Linked DNA regions of Homo sapiens: region 1 is linked to region 2. The links are contacts of gene promoters, found by promoter capture Hi-C in blood cells and fetal thymus (Javierre and others, 2016). All regions are on one chromosome and are shown on one strand. The core of a region is centred on a gene start or on the middle of the fragment in contact, and the rest is flanking DNA. Distances in the headings are between cores, read along the strand shown.

The links. The method cuts DNA at HindIII sites, captures the fragments that hold promoters and counts their contacts. A CHiCAGO score of 5 or more calls a contact.
Region 1: a contact is called between a fragment that was not itself captured here and the fragment with the promoter of C1orf94 in region 2, in 1 of 17 cell types (erythroblasts). The highest score is 5.1, in erythroblasts.

Annotation. Positions count from the first base shown.
Region 1 is chr1:34,752,108-34,759,654 of GRCh38, reverse strand. It overlaps GJB5 (gap junction protein beta 5), which reads right to left and starts at 4,608. Exons shown (of 2, transcript NM_005268.4): 1 at 4,460-4,608; 2 at 1,143-2,348. The coding sequence starts at 2,324. The coding sequence ends at 1,503. The HindIII fragment of the contact is 957 bases long and covers 5,263-6,219 here.
Region 2 is chr1:34,173,322-34,179,876 of GRCh38, reverse strand. It overlaps C1orf94 (chromosome 1 open reading frame 94), which reads right to left and starts at 2,970. Exons shown (of 7, transcript NM_001134734.2): 1 at 1,768-2,970. The coding sequence starts at 2,087. RefSeq lists an enhancer at 160-660 and a silencer at 2,375-2,669. The HindIII fragment of the contact is 2,906 bases long and covers 1,627-4,532 here.

The DNA of each region.
Region 1 (7,547 bases), core at 4,492-6,991, 580 kb before region 2:
TGGGTGGGCAGGCAGGAGGGCGGACTTCCCCGGGCACATACTCAGAGCAAACACCTGCGGCTCTTCTCTCCTGGCCCACGCCTCCTCTCTAGCCTGGCTGGGTATGGCTGAGCCTGGCTCCCAGGCAGGCAGGTATGTGGGTGAGACTGCTGTGTGGGGTTCAGGAGCCTGATATCATTATGCCTAGGCCTAGGACAGCACCAGTGGGATTGACCCTGTCCCCTTCCCATTGCCTCCTTACCCTGCCTCCTTGCCCTCTCTCCTGCCCTTTTCCTGGGAAGCCTGATACTGAGGTCTCAGCAGCTGACATCTACGGAAAGGGGCAACCTTAATTTAGTGCAGGAACGCATCCCATTCTGGTGGTGGGATATTTCTGGGACTGGAGTCTGGAAGCTCTTGGATTGTGTAGGAAATGGGAGGGGTCAACTATGACTTTTCTAGACCAGGGCACCCATAGCCTTGGTGGAGGCAAGGAATGCAGGTCAGCAGCATGAAATGCCCCAGTTAGCACAGGGCCAGGCACAGCATCGCTGTCCATCCTCTGTGGGTCCTGGGGAAGGCCTCCAGGGAGGCTGGAGTGTGACCTCACATATGCTGGTGGGGGGCCTGGGACCTGTGTTCTGGCTGGGATGATGAAGGTTAATGTGCAGCTAGGGAGGGGCCTTCTGCCTCGTTTCTCACAGGCATTATCAAGCACTTCCTAATACCAATGATTAACATTTATGTGTCCTTTTACAGCTGGCTAGCCCTGTCCACAGCCATGAGCTCATCAGTCCTCAGCACAACCCCACAGGCTAGGTATTATTAACCCATTTTGGAGAGAAGCTTAAGTTACTTTCCCAGAGTCCCGGTGGAACTTGGATTCGACACAGGCATTCTAAGTTCATGAACTTCCCACTGCAACATGGACTAAGCTCCATTCTCTCTGCAGACAACCCACAGGACTAAACTTGCCATGGGGGATAAAGGCTAGATGGGAGCATGAGCAAGTAGCACGTCCCCTGGAGTACTGGGGGCCCCCTTTCTGGAAGAGAGGATGCCCCTCACAGGCTGGATCAAGTGCAGCTCTTCACGGGGGCAGAGAGATTGACACCATGAACGTGTGAGGGTCACGAAGGCCGCACAACCAGAGGGCACCTGGAACCAGCAAATGAGTTGACTTTTATTAAGTTCTGACAGTGGGCCACACACGATGAAGGTGCCCGCATGTGTGTTCTTCTATGAACGCCCTCCTCCCTCCAACCCTGGGCATTGGCCCTCACTATTTCCATTCTAGAAAAGGAAACCGAGCTGCAGAGCAGAGGGGGAACTGGCCCAGTGCCGTCGAGCTGGGGCAGGTGGCTGGAGTTGAGGACTAGGAACTGGCTCCCAGAGCGTCTGAATCCTCTCTCTTGCCTGCCCCTACCTCATGGCTTAGCTCCCCCACTCTCAGGTTGCACCTATGAGAGATGCTAGAGCCTCCCCATCCAGGCCCAACCTGCCAGACCAGTCCAGGCAGCCCCTCACAAGATGGTTTTCTTCACATGGTCTCGGGGGCGGTCTGGTAAGAGAGGAGGATGACTGTCTGAGCCCAGAAAGATGAGGTCACCCGAAAGGAGGTCGTCTTGTTTGCAGGAAGAGGTGGTACCGTGGGGGTGATGACCTGTGCACATGGCTTGAGCTTTCCTTGCTGCCAGGCACTCGTGGCATCTCTTGCTCACCAGGTAGATGAGCTCCACGAGGTTGAGCAGGATGCAGATGGCAGCTGTGGCCACCATGAAGAGGGTGAAAATGTTCTTCTCTGAGGGCTTGGAGATGAAGCAGTCCACTATATTGGGACATGGATCTGCGTGGCACTTGACCACAGGAGGGAGGATATATTTGGGGTAGAATGAGTGGAACACATAGAGAAAGGCGATGTCCACGCTCGCCTTGAACACTAGGCTGCAGACATATGTCCACCAGAGCCCACCCCGCTTCTTGCCGGGGTTCAGGTAGAGGCGCCCACTGTTCTCCCCATGGGCTTCTCGGTGCCTCTTCTCCTGAACCTCCCGGTAGGCCACGTGCATGACCACGAGCAGTGAGGGGCATGTCACCAGGATAAGCTGCAGGGCCCAGAGGCGCACATGGGACACAGGGAAGAACTCATCAAAGCAGACGTTGGAGCAGCCGGGCTGGCGAGTATTGCAGTCGAAGTCCTTGTGGTCATCACTCCACACACGCTCGGCCGTCACCAGGTACACCAGCACGCGGAAGATGAAGACCAGAGACAGCCAGATGCGCCCAAAGGCTGTGGAGTACTTGTTGACCCCACTCAGGAGTCCCTCAAAGATACTCCAGTTCATGGTGGACCCACGCGTCAGCTGCTACTGCAGGGAAACAAGAACAATCATTTCCTACATTTATCACAGACTTGCTCTGAGCACTTTGTAGAAATATGTCATCACATTTCATCCTTACCATCACTAGAGGAGCTGGGTTCTACTACTGTCCCCATTTTGTAGAGGGAGGGAGCTGAGGTTTAGTGGCATTATATACAAGGTTACACAACTATTAGGTGCAGGGCTGGGATTTGAGCATAGGTAATTAAGTCCAGAACCCAGCTCTTACCAATACCAGTGGATAAGGGCAGGTCCAGGGAGCCACTCATTCCTCCCCGGGCCTGAGGCTCTGGTCTTGAGGTTCTGCAGAGTGAAGACTGGTGGAGCTGGGACATTCTGCCTGCTCCCTCTGTTTCAACCCTGGCCCTCCTCCTCAGGGGGGCTGAGCCTTGAGATGGTTCTCTCCTTTCTGAGCACTGCTGCCTCTTCTCAGACAGCCCCTTCCCCAGGGGAACCTGCTCTTTGTCCTTTTCTTGGCTCAGGGATGGGACTGGAAAGGAGGCTGGAACCTTGTCCCCAAGCCCCCATCTGGTCTAACACTCTGTAATTAGCCAGGCAGAGTCCTGCTCAAGTGCCACTCAATGCAATCCAGCTGAAAGCTAAAGCAGGCAGCAATAAATTCTCTTCATACAGTAGGTTTCCTAGAGTAACCTGGTATTCCAGTGTTTCCCAAACAGTGTTCCCTGGAACCCTGTCCCATAGGTTGGCAATAGGAGAAGTGAGAGAAGAGGATTCTGTGTCAAGAAAAGTTGGCAAACATTGGGTTTAGTAAAGTTAAATAGGGTTCTTTTGCTCAACCGTGCTAATAAACTCACTAATAAATTCACCAAAAGAGGTATGAAATATGTGGCATTGCCCAAACTCATTTGCCCACAGAAGCCCTTTTCCTCCTGACATAACATTTATCATCTTGTGGAACAGCCTTGTCAAGACATCAAGTGGGAAATGCTGCTCCTGTCAGTTCTGCTGGTGAATTTGGCCTGATGAACTCACAGAATCAGATTCACCTCCGCGTAAGGACTGTGACTGCTAGGCAGAGTAAGGGGTCCCCACTTCCTCACCCGCGAGTCCTCTGCCTGATTCCTGGAGATGGGGGTGTGTCCATTAAGACCCATGCACTGTGGTTTCAACCAACTGTGCACCCTGGGACCCCAAGGAACCTGTCTGCCTAGCCACTAAAGGGCTCATGATGGCCTTCCCATGCTGGTCCAGGCTGAAGCTCACCAGGCTCTCTGGAGCCTCTGCATGATCAACTGCAAAGCAGAGTAGTGATAACAGCCAATATCCATGAAGCATTCATGCCGTGCCAGGCACCGCTCTAAGTTCTTTGTATGAATCAGTACATTATTCCTTCACAGCAACCTTAGGAAAGGGCATATTTTTTATTCCCAATTTACAGATGAGGAAAGAGGAACACAGAGGGATTAATTAACTTGCTCAACGTCACACAGCTAATAAGTGGCAGAGCTAGGATTTGAACCCAGGCAGGCTGGCTCTAGAGCCCACCCTCCGGGAACTGCCCAGCCTTAGGCCTCAGACCCTTTCCTCAAGTTTCAATGAGCTGCCTGCCTGTTTGTGTGCAGACGGATTCTGTCCTTCCCCTTGTGTGTGGATCCTGGATGAGGGTGGCTGGGGGAACCTTTGCCCACCACCCTGTCTCCACACCACCTGCGCCACTTGGACGGGGGATGGGTGGAGGTGGGGGCCGGGGTTGGGGGGAGCTCTGTTTTGAATCACCATCTTGCATGCTCAGTCCTGTCTAAGGTAGGACTCCTGCAGCTTCTCAGGGAACACCCAGGAAGGCCCCGCCCTTAGCCCCAGGGGCTCTCACCCAGCCCATCCCTACTTGGGGAGGAGTGGGGCAGGGCTTTGCAGGCCCAGGCAGAGCTACCCTGCCTGCTGAGCTTCCGGCCTGGCCCCTGCTCCTACCTTTGCCCGGCTGGGGAGACCTGAAAGAACCCAGAGCCCCTTATTCCTCCACCATCAGGACCCAGGGTGGCAGATGTGTCCAGGCCACATCCCACCACTCCCCAGCAGAGAAGTGTCCTCCTGCCACGTATGCCAAGGGGCAGGGCACATGCGGACACAGATGCCCTTACCTGAGTGACTACTCCTCAGGGCTCTCCTGGCTCCCAGCAGCCGGCAATAGGACTCAGCAAGCAGCTTGAATTTCATATCCAGAAGCGGGGAAGGTTTTCGGGGAAGCCCGTTGAAGCCTGTTTCCAGGACAGAGCCTGCCGGGTGTGCTGGCCCAGCCTGGGAGGAGGAGGAGCTGGGACCTGCACTGCCATTGGCTGGGCCCCAGCCTCCCCAGACTGCTTCTGATGAGGCTCAGGAAACTGAGGGGTTCACTCCTCCCAGGGCGCTGAGCCTCGAATCCTGGTATCCTCTCAGGGGAGAGCCACAGGTCCACTCTGACTCCTTGTTCATCCTCCCATCTGTGGGCTTGTGTGGGAGAAGCTGAGGCCTGAATCCCAGCTCTGCCACTTTCTCACTGTGTGATTTCTTGCCTTCTCTGTGAAAGTGGGAAAAGAACAACACCTACCTCATAGGGTGGATACGTGGATTAACCCAGCCTTAGGGGTGAAGTGCTTAGAACAGTGCCTGACACAAGGGAAGCCCTGTCTACAATTGCCTATAATGCGTGTATACTGCCCAGCACAGGCCTGCCGCATGGTATGTCCTCAAAAAAATGTTTCTTCCTCCTCCTTTTCCTTATTCCTAGGCCTTTTCTTTCTGAGATACAGGGAAGGCAGAGGAGAAGGGAGGGAGAGAGAGACGTATGCACTAGAGAAAATCTCATTTGGATGCATGTTGTCTTTGGGTTAAAAAGGCCAAACCCAAGCCAGGCAGGAACCACAGGAGAGGTGGAGAAGGTGGGCAGGGGCACCTGGGGAAAGCTTCTCATTAGTGCACAGACACGGTCTTTTGGCCTAATTGACTTCCAAGGTGCCCTGTATCAGCAGGTCACTTGGGGTCAGGATTCAACAGACAAAGCATCCAGGAGCCACAAACACCTCATGTCCACAAGCAAACACAATGTAGCTTCACATGAGCATACTCTTACACACAGGCCACAATTATGGGCACAGTGTTGCACACACATGCAGCAGTGGCTTTATTTTATTCACTGCTCTATCCCTTGTGCCTAGTATGGTGCCTGGTGTCTTGTCCAGTTAGGCTTCAATTTATATTTATTGAATGAATGATGTGTGAAATGCACACACCCTGCAGAGAGTCACACATTTCTATACTCCATGCTCTTTCCAAAAAGCTGTTGCCAAGTACAGGAGAGAGGAGGCATATAAAGAGATCAGTTACAACATTGTGAGAAGTCCTAGAAAAGACACAGAGAGAGAAGGGAGTTTTAAGTTCTGCCAGAGGGAGAGCCGGAGAAGGTAACATTTAAGCTGGGTCTTGAAGGATGTATAGGAGTTTACCAAGAAGAGATGCTGAGGAGGGGCCTTTGAGGCAGTGGGCACATAGCGTGCAGAGGACCTTTGTGAAAAATAATGGAAGAGCATTGGAGAGTGGGCTGGGTAGTGGTGGGGACACCACATGGCAAGGAGCCTGGAAGGTCAGCAAAGACCTTCCAGACCATGAAGGACCTGGAATGTCATGCTAAGGAGTTTGAATTTATCTTGGGTGCAGAGGGAGGCATGAGGGAATTCTTTTCTTTTTTCTATTTTTACATTTTGTATTGTGCTGAGGCAGGAAAAAGGAAGAGACATGGTCAGATTGGTACATTTGATTCTCATTATTCAAGGTAGTTATAGTCTATGAGTCACCATGAGCACCAAGTTAGTGAATATTGAAGCATTCTTCCTAGAGGACATATGAGGTTAGGTTCCTGCAAGCTTCTGTTTACAATGTGGTTATCAACTGATCAATACAGAAGTCTGTTTTATGTGTGTTTCTGAAGACACCTTGTTTAATATATATTGTTGACTCATTAATATTGGACTCATAGCCAACACCACTATAACTCATGACTGAATGAAGCTTGTCTAACACACATATTTTTTCCATAAGGCTCATCGTAGCCTTCGTGTGCTTAGAAACACTAGATGGCACTTCAGCACTGTACTCGGGGCCATTTCAAACAGCAAATCCCCAGCAAAAAGCAAGAAATGAGAAAAACATGGCACCAAGTAGACCTCCAATAGAACATGTTTATAGCATTAGAGCTGAAAGGGGAAGGCAGAATGTCACCTTGTTCAGCCACAGCTGGGAACACGTGCATTGGGAGACTCAAATTTTTGCCACTCTGTGCATGTTATAAATGGCCATGAAAGTGTCTTAAGTGTAGATTTTGGCTTAGGAATAAATTGTGGTGAGCTGGAGAATGCACAATACGGAATCTGTGAATAATGAAGATCAACTGTATGTTTAGAAAGCTTCCTCTGTTTGAGAAAAGAGGCTGGAGGGGCTTGTGAGACCGGTATGAAAGTTACTGCAATGATTTAGGCAAGAAATGAGCAAGAGGGTTGGATTTGGGAAATAGCTGGTAAATACAGCTGGCAGCTTTGGGGGACTGACTTGGGGGACTGACTGGATGTAGGATGTGAGGCAGGAGGCTGACCTAGGATGGTTCATAGGTCACTGGTTTTGGTGATTTGATAGGTGATTGGGCCACTGATAGAAATAACCCTATGAGGTAGGAACTCCAATGGCTCCATGTTCCAGATGGGAAAACTGAGGCCCAGAGAGGCTAAGAAACTTGCCTGGGCTTGCACAATCAGTAATCAGGAGAGCTGGGGGTGGAATTCAGGTAGCTGAGCTCCAGAGCCAGTGCTTTTAACACCGTAATGCTTCAACATCTTCATACCCAAGGATTTGGCAACACTGTCGGCTCCTTTATGCTTGATAAACAGAATCATTTACTCATCGTCAAATATTCATTAAGCACCTACTATGTGCCACGTGTTGCGCCTGATAGTGGAAATAAATCAGTAAGCATGGTTCTCATGGTTCAACCTCTGGGCCTGGTCCTCTTGAAGATTACAGTCAAAGGAGGAAATAAGACATTAAACACACACACACACACACACACACACACACACACACACACACCAATAACTCTAAAAATGCAATTGTGATAGAGTCACAAAGGAGAAGCACAGTGCCAAGAAAATGTATAATGGAGAACCAGACCTAGTTTCAGGAAGCAGGGAAAGCCTTTCTGAA
Region 2 (6,555 bases), core at 1,721-4,220:
CAGCTCTGGCTGAAATGGATTTTGGGGCCCAGCAACCAGCCCACTTGACTCCACAGTGACCCCTGAAGCACCTTGAGGTATATGGAGCATAGTGTGAACCCCAGATTGAAGCCAACAACAACAAAAACAACAACAACAACAACAAATCCCAACCTGAAGAAGTACATGTTAAGAGCAGCCTGATTTGTATAATGCATCTTTCATTTCCCTGTCTCCCATCACATTGGATCCTCATTATCAACTCTGAGGTAGACAAGGCAGCACATATCACCCTCAATTTGCAAATGAGGAAGTAAAGGCCAAATGGAGTTAAGCAGCTGGCCAAAGGTGCACCAGTTCAATTTTCAGCCAAGTGCAGACTGGAAGTCGAGTCTGTCTCCATTAACTCTGTGTGACCTGGCAAAGAGGATGCCATCTACTGGAAATTGCTACTGACCCTTGGTCCACAAAGTGGACAATCAGCTTCTTGGCCATTGAGAGCAGAGCACAGCCCCATGGGCCCTCCTGCCAAGGCCCTGTCCCAGAGCAGATGGCAATGAGCAGGGGAGAAGGGCTCAGTGCCACTGAAGGGCCTGACAGCAGGATTTTAGCTGTAGATGGGCCATTCCTGTCTGAGCCTTGTCATGCTGAGCACAGGGCAGGGAGGCAGGACTAGCCAAAGTGCCTTCCACCTTCATCTGCAGTAAGTAAATGAGCCCACAGAGGGACAGCAGGTAGTGTAGAGCTGGGTGTCATTTACACTTTGCTTTTCTTCTTAGCTCTTGCTTAGGCATCCCTGAAACCCGAGGCAGCTGATAAATGCCTGAATGGCTCCCCAACTCCAGAGCATCTCTGAACTGAGCTGTAGCATGTGTTGGAGCAGGCAACACTTAATTATCGGTTAGTCTTTAATTAGCTCTTAATTATTAACACTTAATCCATCTGTAAAATGGGGACACTAATACCTGCCTCACAGGGACTCTGGGAACATTAATTAAGTTTACAGTCCACTTTGAAGATGCAAAACGTGAAATAAGTAAGTGCTCAACGGCGGTATTAATAACCACAGCAGATTTACTTTCTTTTCCTAATTTCCCTTTTTCCTCTCTGCTCCTTCCTTTCCTTTCGAATATCCATCCTCAACAATATCTGCCCAACTTTGCCCTGATGGAGAAACACTTAGCTCTGTGTTTCCCAGACACAGGATTTCCCATCCCGGAAACGGGCTATTTACAGCCATCTTCCCGCACTTTAATTTTCTATTATGTCCTCTGAATATGTCAGTGCCTTCCCAGTAAATATTTTGATGTGTGCTCTTGCAGCAGCTTCTGTGGAGGCTGAATGGGACAGCTGCTCCCTGTATTAGGGAATTCCAGATGTGATTTAAAACCATCAGACTCATCCATGTGAATGCCTAGCCTTTAGGTGGGAGAGGGGAAGGATCTTCTAGTTGCTTCTGGGGAAAGCCACAAGCCATATAACCCTTAGCCTTAGCTAGGGTGGTTTTTCAAGGACCTCAGATTCACATGCGTTTAGGATGAGAAATGTCTGCTTAACGGGCTGGTGAAGAGGCAGCCTGGAATATAGCCCTAATCTGACTCTTCACCCACAAAACTTCAGAACTTTGGTCAGCTCTTCTATAAAGCTTGGACAAAGGACCATGGAGGGGGCAATATACAGCCTTTAGGGTTTCACCAGCCTCAACAGTGGGCCAGAACATTCCCCCAGAAGGTCAGACTTCATCTCCTCCCTCCTCCCTTGCTGCCAATGGAGTAGGGGGGTACTTACTCTTCTTGAAAGCTGAGCTCATTGCCTCTTAGAGTTCCAACCACAGGGACAGAGAGCTGCTCCATGGAGGTCCAGGGCTGTGAGGCCTCAGGCAGGCCTTGAACTCTCTTCCAGATTTCATGGCAAGTCTTGTCTAGGCTGTCTTGGGGTGTGTCCTGGTGGATCCAGATGTATCTGGGGAATGGGCCCAGGGCGCAGGGGCCCTTGGCCACCAGGGCCGAGGATGAAGGAAGCCCATTCCCGCTGGCCATCCTCCTCCTCTCTTTCTGGAAGCCCCTCTGTCCACCCAGGGCTAGAACACAACCACCACCACCCCTCATTCACCAGAAAGGGAGATGAGGATGGGGCTTGGCAGAAGTGGGTCAGTTCTGTCTGGCTTTCGCTCCAGCAAGGTGGTTAGGTTCAGAGGCCTTCTATTTGTGTGGGAGGGGTGGGTGGAGGACAGCTTTCTTTTGGGGAGGGGAGGGCTTATTTTGATTTGTTTTTATTTGCTCTTTCCTGACTTTTGCCTCCCTCCCCCTCTCCCTTAGAAGAAAATATTTAAAAGTCAACAAAAACCAGTAGCTTAGGAACAGTGGAATGCTGCGGAGCTCAGGAACCAGGCGCCTGGGCGGGCAGAATGACATCTGGGAACAGCTGGAAGGGGAGGGCTGGCTCTCCCCACAGTCCCTGGCACTGCCCCCTTGCGACGCCGCCGTGACAACTTTCGGCGCCTGGGCTCAGCCCATGCTGTCCCGCTAAGCCACGCGGAGGACTGGGTGCGGGCCTGGCACCATTGTAGGCACTCGGGGGGCGGGGCCCCGCAGGAGGCGCTCGCCTGGGCGTTCCCAGGGAGCCCCTCGCAGAGCGAGCGTCAACGGCCCGACTCCCACCCCCGGCCCAGGTCCTGCTTTTCTCTCGCCCTACCCCTCCTGCTCCCGGTCTCCCGCTGCTGCTCTGCTGCCCCCGGAAAGAAGGGATGAGGCGTGTGTGGATGGGCCCACAGCCCTTAGTCCCCGGCCCCCAGCAGACCCCTGCCCCAGCCGCGCCGCGCTGCCAGGCGGGCACCGGGAAGGGCCCAGCGGCTCAAGAGCGCGCTGACTCGGCAAGGCAGGCTGGGCCGGGCGGCTCCCACCAATTTGCCTGCCAGTAGCTCCCACACCCTCGCCGTCGTCGAGCGGGGGAATTCTTTCTGTGGGTTTCAAACGCAACGGCTCGGTGCGCGGGGCGCCCTGGGTTCGGAGCCCAAGACCCGCCGGTGGGGTGGGTGGGGGTGGGGCCCAAAGGACCCCAGAGCGCTTCGGGGGATCAGAAGTCAAAGCCAAACGCGCCGCCGCCCCACTTCGCCGCTCCACACAAATCTCAGCTCCTGCCTGGGGGTCCCCCGGCAACCTCGATTTTAATCCTAACTGCCATTTTATGGGGCGCTTGCCCTGTGCCAAGCGCTGGGCTCACATTCAATCCTATTAAAGCTCGTGAAATTAGTACCACTTTTTATTATCGTTCTACACGGGAGGAAAGCGAATCTCAAAGTCATAAGGGATTGCGTCCAAGGCCCCCTGAGAAAAGGGAAGCTGAGACTCAGACCCCAGCACTCTAGGCCTGATCTAGCCCTTGACCACTGAGACAGCTTCAGTAGGTGGGTAGGAGCAGGAGTAGGAGGTCCGAGGTGCAGGGAGAAGGGCTAAGTTAGCTGTTTGCTGATCAACAGGCCCCTACCCTCACTGAAGCGGCTTCATTCAATTGGGCACTGACACAGTACCTCTGCTGAGGGAGACTTTCTGGTTCCGAGAGTCAGGGGGTTGCTTCTCTAGCAATTCCCCTGAAAAGGAAAAGCAAGAGGGTGGAGACGGAAGAAAGAAGAATGGACACAAATAGAGGAAGATGGCAGTCTATAAATGCAGGGCTGGGTTGAATCCTGACACTCATTTCCGAGCTGTGTGACCTTAAGAACTTTCTGAACTTCTCCCATCCCCATTCATAATTCCCCCAGTACTGATGCAACCCCTCCTCTGTGCCCGATGAGTTGCTGGGCACTGAAGAAGCATAAGGGTGGGCAAAAATGGCATGGTCCCTGCTCTCCTGGAGCCTGTATACTAGCGAGGAGAGATCGATGCAAACCAGCCAAGCGAGTAAAGCAGCAATAATTACAGATGCAATGGGACTCTGATGGAAAATAACTATTAGGTTGGTGCAAAAGTAATTGCGGTTTTTGCCATCACTTGCAATGGCAAAAACCACAATTACTTTTGTACCAACCTAGTAACAAAGTGAGGCACTGGGGAGAAGAGGGGAGGCAATATTCCATGGTGGTCCAGGCCGACTTCTTTGAGGAGAAAAATTTGAGAAGGATGAGAGGAATTCCTTTTCTGTAAAATGGTGTTAATAAATTATGAGGATCATGTTTCTGGCACATAGTAGGCACTCAAAAAATATGTGTTGGATGAATTAATGGTATACTGTATGTAAAGTGCCTGGTATACAGTAGGTGCCCAATACGCAACCTTGCTCTTTACAGAGGGGCTGAGTTCCTGGAAATGTTTACTCTAAATTTTGAAATCTGAGCTTCATTCTCCTTTGATTTTCATTACAAAATTGAAGATGTGTTCCTTTGGGGAAAATTCTGAGGGCCTAGACTGAATAAAATTATAGTTAAGAATGTAGAAAACCTTTTAAAATAGTGTATTTAAAGGAAAAGTGATCATTTCTGATGAAATATTAATAGTTCTGAAAATGTCACTCAGTGTTTGTGCTGCTTGGCATTTGGTTGGCTAACACCTTAAGCTTAGAGCAGAACGCCAACGACCCTGCACTGCCCAGGCCCCAGGATTCTGGAAGTTAGCCAGCTCACTCACTCTTCCTGTTCCCTCTCCCCCTCAGCAGGAGACCAGGCAACGGGGGCTAAATCAGAAAGGACTGCAAAAAAAAAAAAAAAAAAAATCAAATACAGCAGGGATACGGAACAAAGATAGAGCATGTTTTTAGAGTGCACAGACGAGATTTCTAGAAAATTCTGCAAAAATCTTAAGTGATGTACTTAGAAATAGTATAAAGCTATGTCCATATGGTAGCCACTAGCCACATGGGGTTGTTTTAATTTTAACTTTATTTTTATATAAATTAAATGAAAAATTCAGCTCCTCATTTGCATTAGCCACATATTATGTGCTCAGTAGCCACATATGGCTAGTGGCTACCATATTGGACAGCACAGAGAACATTTCTTATCATTAAATACATATTCTCGGGAACCAGAGTCCCTGGGTTCAGATTCTGAGTTCACGTTTTCTGGCAATGTAAGCTTAGGCAAGTTACTCTGTGCCTTGGTGTATTAGTTTGGTAGGGCTACCATAACGAAGTCCACAGACTGTGTGGCTTAAACAACAGAATTTTATTTCCTTGCCATTCTAGAGGTTAGAAGGCCAAGACCAAGATGTTGGCATTGTTAGTTTCACTCTGAAGTCTCTCTCGCTGGCTTGCACTTGGCTGTGTTCTCCCTATGTCCTCACATGGTCTTCCCTGTATATGTGTCCCTGTCCTAATCACTCCTTTAAAGGACACCAGTCATATTAGATTAGGACACACCCTAATGGCTTTTTTCTTTTTTTTAATCTTAGCTACCTCTTTAAAGGACTCATCTCCAAATACAGTCACATCTGAGGTATTTGGTTTAGGATTGCAGCATATAATTCAGCCCACAACATTTGATTTCTTAGTCTGTAAAATGGGATGATAATGAAGAATACTTGCTTTGTAGAATTACTACAGATGTTCTATTACTAACCAATTGCTTAACACATGGAAAGTCCCTTGAACAACAACTGACAGATAAACGTGTTATACAGTTGTTTGCTTGTTGATTACACTGAAATGCATGCCTTTGGAGTTTCTGAATAGCAGCTTTTGTGTTTTGTGTAGAGAGGGAGAATTGTGTTGTACTGGGGAAGTTGTTCTGTGATGGAGAAACGAATTCACATAATCACTTACGCCTTTCCAGGCTTTGTTCATTTTTGAGCATCCATCATGGGTCAAAATTGTGAAAGACACAGGGATTAGAGATGATGAAAAAGATGTCTACCCTAGACAGAATCACCTAGTGACAGAGGCGGGGCAAAGCATTCCATAAGTGCCTGGTGCAGAGCAGTGTGATATAAACTGACTTATTCCAGTTTCCATCCAACATGGAGTTATGTTCCTCCAACACATGTATCTATGCCCAGCACTGTTTGAGGTGCTGAAGATAGAGTAGTGAAGAAGAGGAGTTTGGTCTCTGTCTTTTTTAGAGTTTAAAGTGAAGCATTTAATGGTCATGGACACCATTTAATCTGTAAATTATTTTTAGCTTGGAAAACTTCTTGAATTCCCCCTGACTACTTACATTACCCTGGGCAGGTTGGTTTAACCTCAATGTCTCCATTTGCTCATCTATGAAACAGAGACAATAAAATACTGACCTCATAGACTTGTTTTACGATAATGAAATAATACATGTAAAGTGCTTATAATAGCTTGGCTAATGTATGTATCCAGTGAATGTTGGCTATCATTATTTAGAATTCTGGGATTCTTAGCTTTTCTCTGTGGAACCAGGAAGGCCTAAGGAGGAGGCAATTCTCCTTACCTCCCATCCAGTCAAAGCCTCTTCTCATCTGGCTTTCATCTCTGACACAAACATGGCTAGGCTGGAAAACTCAGAAACGTGGGAATGGCCTAGGCTCTTTTACAATCATCATATAGCCCCTAAGGCTGCTTACTCTTGTAGGTCCTTTTAGGTTCCTCATCTAACATATTTTAAACACACCCACCTCT